Linked DNA regions of Homo sapiens: region 2 is linked to region 1. The links are contacts of gene promoters, found by promoter capture Hi-C in blood cells and fetal thymus (Javierre and others, 2016). All regions are on one chromosome and are shown on one strand. Each heading gives the region's core, a stretch centred on a gene start or on the middle of the fragment in contact. The rest is flanking DNA. Distances are from core to core; before and after follow the strand shown.

The links. Contacts are between HindIII fragments. The CHiCAGO score rates a contact against its expected background, and 5 or more counts as called.
Region 2: a contact is called between a fragment that was not itself captured here and the fragment with the promoter of ARSJ in region 1, in 1 of 17 cell types (M2 macrophages). The highest score is 6.5, in M2 macrophages.

What each region holds. Positions count from the first base shown.
Region 1 is chr4:113,977,744-113,981,569 of GRCh38, reverse strand. ARSJ (arylsulfatase family member J) reads left to right here and starts at 1,923. Exons shown (of 2, transcript NM_024590.4): 1 at 1,923-3,133. The coding sequence starts at 2,736. It overlaps LOC107986305 (a long non-coding RNA gene), which reads right to left and starts at 1,757. Exons shown (of 2, transcript XR_001741794.2): 1 at 1,584-1,757; 2 at 42-1,200. It overlaps LOC124900762 (a long non-coding RNA gene), which reads left to right. Exons shown (of 3, transcript XR_007058237.1): 3 at 606-675. The HindIII fragment of the contact is 10,512 bases long and covers 1-3,826 here.
Region 2 is chr4:113,312,160-113,315,985 of GRCh38, reverse strand. The region is part of intron 24 of ANK2 (ankyrin 2); the gene reads right to left. Among named protein-coding and RNA genes, the nearest start is that of MIR8082, 160 kb to the right of the region's middle. The HindIII fragment of the contact is 964 bases long and covers 1,738-2,701 here.

The sequences.
Region 1 (3,826 bases), core at 674-3,173:
AAAATAACAATACAACAATAAAAATAATACAGTCCAACAACTATTTTCATAGCATTTACATTGTATTAGGTATCATAAGTAATATAGAGATGTTTTAAAGCATAGAAGATACATTAATATGTAGGTTTTATACACATAGTGCACCATTTTACATAAGGGACTTGAACATCCATGAATTTTGGTATCCCTCAGGGTTCTGAAACTAATCCCTGATAGATGCGACTGTATATGTGTGTATGTATCAGTATATAGAATACTATGGTTAGCACATGGTAAGTATTCCATACATTTTGATTGTTTTTTATTATTATTGCTTGGAACCTCAACTGAAAATGTGTCTCCTTCTTGCACAGAACATGGATACTTCTTGTGCTATGTCACAAGAAGTCACTATCTCCCCAAATAAAAGGCTAGATTGACCAGAATGTTTGCATCTTTCCCATTCAAGCACCTGGCTAGGCCCATTAAGCCTAGGGCCCTACCTCTCAATGCTTTTCAATCCCCTGACACTCAGTACTCTCATTACATATTTGGTGACTTAATTTACAGAATTGCTAAACTCACATTTCTGAACATGGCTTCTAAAACTGACTATCTCTCCCCAGCTTAGCCAGAAGGGCTGCAAGGAAGAACAGAGACCAGAAGGCCTACAGCAGCTAGCAAGGTTAACTTCATGGAGCACCATCGTGCCTTTCAAAGTTCCCATTTCACAAAGTTTTGCCTGGGAACTCAGCAGGAACTTTAGCAACAGGAGAGAATTAGAAATAAATGGCTAAATGAAACCTAGATTTATGTTTCAGTCAATTGAGAGAATCTGACATGTTATGTGCCAGCCCACAGTAGGTATTCAGTAAGTAACTGTTGAATAAATTTGGTGGTAGAAAAAAATATCTCAGTGGCTCTTGGCATTCATTGCCTCTTCTATAGAGACTATACTATACATCCCTCTGCTGCCTTTGAGCAGGACTTTAAAACTCTATGACTCTAGTAAAATCAAGAGTATTTTCACAACCAAGATAAGTTTTTACAATGGTTTTCCTCCACATGGTAAAAAAGAAAGAAGGAAAAAAAATGATGAAGCTCCCTGAATTACTGGATGGGAAACACTGGCTTCTTTAATGCAGGAATGCAGACTGGCTTCGGGGTTCTTGAAGGAGAAATGCATAACTCTTCCTCTCCAGGCTTTTGGCTGGAGACACCCTGTGGGTAAGTTAGGGGAGAGGTAAGAGGGAGCGGGCAATTCCAGTATTTTCACATAGGGAAAGGGTAACGAAGAATCAGGCTGTAAAAGCCAGCTATTGGGAGAGGAAATAAAACTTAAAAATTTGTCATCGTTACTGAAAAAAAAAAAAAAAAAGGTAGGGACAAAAGGAATAGGAAAATGATGGGGGTGGGGGGACTAGTAAAGGAAAACCTGCAAAGGAAGTTGGAAAGAGGAAAGAGTGTCATACGCATTTTGTTTTTATTCCTGCTCCTTCTCTCTCACTCCCTCCAGAAGCTAGAAAAAGTTTGCAAGCGCAACTTTAGGGATGGGAGACGGGGCTCTTCACCAACAGCCCCACGAAAAGAAGTGCCCGCTTTACCCTTCCCCATTCGCGCCGCCGTCCTTTCCCTCTAGCGGGGTGATGGGCAGGAGGCGACACTCTTGGGACGCGGTAGCCCAGGCGGATCCCCCGGAATCCCGCTGGGCTGGAGCAGCACGCAGCTCTCTCTCTGGCAAAGCCTCCTCTGCCTTGGCCATCCACCTCCCGGAAAAGAAAAAGGAAAGATCGAGCCTCTAAACAGTCCTTTTCCCCCACCCCCTCTTCCCGGGGGAGCTCAGGAAGAAAGTACCGTTCTGTGATTCACTGGAGAGAAAAGAGGGAGGAGGCAAAAGAACTCGGAGTGCCAAAGCTAAATAAGTTAGCTGAGAAAACGCACGCAGTTTGCAGCGCCTGCGCCGGGTGCGCCAACTACGCAAAGACCAAGCGGGCTCCGCGCGGACCGGCCGCGGGGCTAGGGACCCGGCTTTGGCCTTCAGGCTCCCTAGCAGCGGGGAAAAGGAATTGCTGCCCGGAGTTTCTGCGGAGGTGGAGGGAGATCAGGAAACGGCTTCTTCCTCACTTCGCCGCCTGGTGAGTGTCGGGGAGATTGGCAAACGCCTAGGAAAGGACTGGGGAAAATAGCCCTGGGAAAGTGGAGAAGGTGATCAGGAGGCCGGTCCACTACGGCAGTTTATCTGTCTGATCAGAGCCAGACGCGACGCGTCCACTTCGCAGTTCTTTCCAGGTGTGGGGACCGCAGGACAGACGGCCGATCCCGCCGCCCTCCGTACCAGCACTCCCAGGAGAGTCAGCCTCGCTCCCCAACGTCGAGGGCGCTCTGGCCACGAAAAGTTCCTGTCCACTGTGATTCTCAATTCCTTGCTTGGTTTTTTTCTCCAGAGAACTTTTGGGTGGAGATATTAACTTTTTTCTTTTTTTTTTCCTTGGTGGAAGCTGCTCTAGGGAGGGGGGAGGAGGAGGAGAAAGTGAAATGTGCTGGAGAAGAGCGAGCCCTCCTTGTTCTTCCGGAGTCCCATCCATTAAGCCATCACTTCTGGAAGATTAAAGTTGTCGGACATGGTGACAGCTGAGAGGAGAGGAGGATTTCTTGCCAGGTGGAGAGTCTTCACCGTCTGTTGGGTGCATGTGTGCGCCCGCAGCGGCGCGGGGCGCGTGGTTCTCCGCGTGGAGTCTCACCTGGGACCTGAGTGAATGGCTCCCAGGGGCTGTGCGGGGCATCCGCCTCCGCCTTCTCCACAGGCCTGTGTCTGTCCTGGAAAGATGCTAGCAATGGGGGCGCTGGCAGGATTCTGGATCCTCTGCCTCCTCACTTATGGTTACCTGTCCTGGGGCCAGGCCTTAGAAGAGGAGGAAGAAGGGGCCTTACTAGCTCAAGCTGGAGAGAAACTAGAGCCCAGCACAACTTCCACCTCCCAGCCCCATCTCATTTTCATCCTAGCGGATGATCAGGGATTTAGAGATGTGGGTTACCACGGATCTGAGATTAAAACACCTACTCTTGACAAGCTCGCTGCCGAAGGAGTTAAACTGGAGAACTACTATGTCCAGCCTATTTGCACACCATCCAGGAGTCAGTTTATTACTGGAAAGTAAGTGTTCCTACTTCTTATATTTATTCCTTGGAGAAATCTTAAGCATTTAATGAAGATCCAGCTCCAAATTTAAGGGAGTAACAGAAAGTATGGGGAACAACTGAATGAATGAAGAATGAATGAATGATGTATGGTATTGGGGTACCGTGTTAAAATGGATACAATGTTAATGATCTTAATTTTCTAGTCACTAGTGTAGTCTAGTTTTCCTTTTTACAGAGCCAATTATAAGTTTCTAAATGAGATGAGAACGTATAAATACCCACAAACCAGAGATTTCCAGAAATGGTCTCCTGTTTCAAATCTATTCTACTTTTGAGCATGCTCAGATTTTGTTTCAGATGTCATACTAGAATTCACACTCACCATCACTGATAAGAAAGATCAAAAATTTTTTTTACTCTTGGTGCATTCTTAAATCTAGAATTATCAGAGAAAATGAACCAACGAAACAGATATAGAGTAATGTAAAATATGACCAGTTTATGTATGACTCTGCTTCGGTCTTTGATGGGTCATTTTCTCTTATGAGACCCCCTAATGAAGGCCATATTTAATTAGCAAAGCAGTTCTCAAAATGCAAGGAAATACAATGGTAAGTGCTCAAGAGGAGTCAAACTTCATCTGCAGTTTTCTGTTGCTCTTCACAGGTCTGGAATTTTCTGACTAACCAACAGAAATCAGACTATT
Region 2 (3,826 bases), core at 970-3,469, 670 kb after region 1:
TCACAAAGATAGCTAAGATCCACTTGGATGTGTTTTGTACCAGGTGGCACGAGATCAGCAATTCTTTTTTTTTTTTTTTTTTTTTTTTTGAGACGGAGTCTCGCTCTGTCACCCAGGCTGGAGTGCAGTGGCGCGATCGTGGCTCAGTGCAAGCTCCGCCTCCCAGGTTCACCATTCTCCTGCCTCAGCCTCCCGAGTAGCTGGGACTACAGGCGCCTGCCACCACGCCTGGCTAATTTTTTTGTATTTTTAGTAGAGACAGGGTTTCACCGTGTTAGCCAGGATGGTCTCGATCTCCTGACCTCGTGATCCGCCCACCTTGGCCTCCCAAAGTGCTGGGATTACAGGCGTGAGCCACTATGCCCGGGCTAGATCAGCAACTCTTAAATTCTATTCACCTTTATTTTGTTTTGAATTTGGCTAAGGAAGGGAAAATAGTAGAGGAGCCAACCTCTTCTGTTTCTAATACAGCTGTTCTATGGGCTCAACCGTCTTCTGGAATAGCAGAAACACCGGTCTCAAAGGGAAAATGAAAATTTAGCTTGAATGAGAACAAACTGAATGGTAAATAATGGTACCTCAAATAAAACCTTGTGACGTGGCTGCCAGATTGCAAAGGTCTAAACTTTGAAAGAATCAATCAGGTCTCAATTGCCACTCTCAAGGAGTGACTATGGCTAAGTAGACAAGTCTGTCTATTTCAGGAATGTGGTATTAAAGAGCCCATTGGGCTATGAAAGTAAAGTCGCACTTTGCAATCGGTATATCAGTCATACAAGTGAAATTTTGATATCCATTTAGTTGATACCTGAGTCTATCTCTCAATTGGTTTTGTACTGAGAGGAATAGAGAGGTGTTGGTGTTTTTTGTCTTTCCTAAAACCCCAACAGGAAAGAAATACAGAGGGATAAGAAAAGAAAGAAGGAGACAAAGTGATATATAATCACAAAAAATTGATTAGAGTAGAGAGAGAAAGATATTAGGATATGTACACAGAGAGTGAGAAAAGTTGGACAGAGAGAGGGAGCAACAATGAATAAGTCAAAACCATATATAGGAGTGTCTCTACCTTTCTATGGGTTGTATTCTAGCCTCCTCTACTTACTTACTGCCTTCTGAAATACTAATTGGTTGTTTAATCAATGTGTATCATTTCTAACTGCTTTTTTAAAAATGATGTCGTATAATCTACTTAAATGAAATAAAGATGGACTATTCCAACACCAGAGAAGTTATTCGCTCTAAAAGAATATTCCCTCTAAAATAATAATAACTAAAGAATTATTCTCACTAAAATAATATAACCAGCATGACAAAGGTCTGGAATAATTTAAGCCCTTGGATCAGAAATTGTTCACTCTGATTTAAGACATTAAAAACAAGTTTAAATATTTTCCAATACAGTTGCCAATTTTTCATGAAGTCAATGGTTCTGCTATTCAGTTAATAAATGTATAATAACATAGCCATAGAAGTGTAAAGTTTTACTTGCTGTTCATCTAGGGGATGTACTAGGGGTTTTGTTATGGTCTTAGTTTATATTTTTTATTTTACTACGGTACAACTGCTTTATGGACACATAATAGGTGGTATGAAAGTGTAATTTTATTGAAAAGTATAATAATTACTATCTTGGTAAACTGTAATATTTATTAAACATTCAATTAATGGAGTGGCAAACTTAACGAGTAGAAATCCACAATTTTCAATAAATTTGCTTTAAGATATGAAGAAGCTTCTGTGGTTCATTATTATTTAGTATTTTACATTGAATTTGGAAAGCATTTTTAATTTGTAAGCTACAATAAAATAAAACAGATGCAAAATCCAACTAATCATAACTTGGTTGTATTTGTATTTAATGTACATTAAATTGTATGTATTTGTATTCTTCCATATCTATGCATATTTTAGGCATCAGAATATTTTTTCTATCTTCTCCAACTACACATAGGCTAATTGGGGTTGTTTGGGGAAAGCCATGCTAATGTGTTATCAACCACAGGTGCAGCAGTGATTGTTGAAACAAAGCAATACCTGGGTCATGTCACAGATTTACATTTTAATAATATATTCACCTCTTCTAGCTCAGCTAGTTATTCAGTTCAATACATAAAAATATTTATTTTAGAATAAATCCATAATTCTAGAATATAAGCACCCCCTCCCACTCCCCCACCGCTCCCCCTCACCCCCCGCCCCGGCAACACACACACGCAGGTTTAGCAGTGAGCAGGGAAATGTGGATAAATCTAGGAAGGGCTTGTTTCCATGCTCTGTTAATACCTACCTGGGCATGGTGCTAGTGAAAGCAATTCAGATAAAGAAATAATGCAAAGGAAAAAATGGTCACTGAGAAAAGGTAACTTATATTGAATTGCCTAAGCAAAATTAAAAATAAAAGAAGACCATGAAAATGAGATGCTGTCTGTCACTCTATTTTGGAAATGGTGAATACATCTAGTGATCTAGAAATGCAAGTGGAGACCTGGAGAACACAGTATGTCTTGTTTGTTTCATGTCCCCTGACCTTATGTGCTGAAAAGTATTGGATTTAAGCAGGAGCATTCAAGCCATCCATCCTGTTTTATAGAAAGTATTATTCTAAATTCTTCCTCAACCTAAGTACTTTGAAAGAAGAAAAACAGATCAAATCAAGTACTTATTCTTAATAAGGGAGACCATGCAAAAAATAGAAGCTTTATGGTTGACAGTAATAAGACTGTTCATAGATTATCATCAATTTGTGCAATGCCATGAACATTACACTTTATTCAAATTTGAAATCTTTTAAGAATCTCAGAGTATAAGGTCCAAATCTACCAATGTATCAAGACAGCTTATGGAACTCCAGAGGGGCTCCTCCTTCTGGGAGCACCCTTTATCTAAGTTATTGAAGCCAAGGACTCAATTTAATCTCCTTCCCCTTCCTCACCTAAATCATGAAATTCATCATGAAATCTGACTAGTTTTGCCTCCTACACATGTCTCAAAAAACTCTCAAATTTTTTATTTCTGAAATTCTCTCCATGACTATCACCAAGGTTAGAGTGCTAGTCCTCTCATGACACCTGCAGTTAATACACGAACAATTGCTTCTCAGAGTGGCTGCAATCTCCAGGTTTAGCCCTTTGAAACTCTCCTTTAAAATTCATCCTCTTTCTCACTGGCAGAAGGATCCCCCTGCTATGCAAATATAATTCCCGTCCTCCACACTTACACTCCAGCAACACTGCATTCCCTTTTTTCTCATACACCCTGCGAGCCTTTGCTCAAGACCTTGTTAAGGCTTCAAATGCCCTCCCCACTTTTCCTCACCATTGTTACTCATTATTTGGTCTCAGTTTGGTTTCATCTGCTCCAGGAAGCTAGAGCCTCAGGGCTTCAGTGGCACTCTATGTGTACCACTAGCTTATGCCCTCTCCCATCCCATTAGACTATGAAGTTAACAAGCCTATCTTGCTAAAGAAAAAAAAAAAGATAGTGGAAGGGGGCATTGGTGCTCAAGGAAAAAGCCCAAGAAAAGTTTGTTTTTGCTAATTATTCACTTAGACTTTAAGGTATTTATTTCTTAGACTCTATGCTGGATATTCATAAAATAGCTTACAATAGTGCCAACTTTAAAACTATAAACCTGAGATTATTGATTAGCAGAACACATTACACTACGTGGACAAACTTTCTTTTCTTTTCTTTTTTTTTTTTTCTGTCTCAAGAGACAGTGTCTTGCTATGTTGCCCAGCCTGGACTTGAATTCTGGGGCTCAAGGGATCCTCCAACTCAGCCTCCCAAGTAGCTGAGACTACAGGTCTCAGCACCCAGCCAC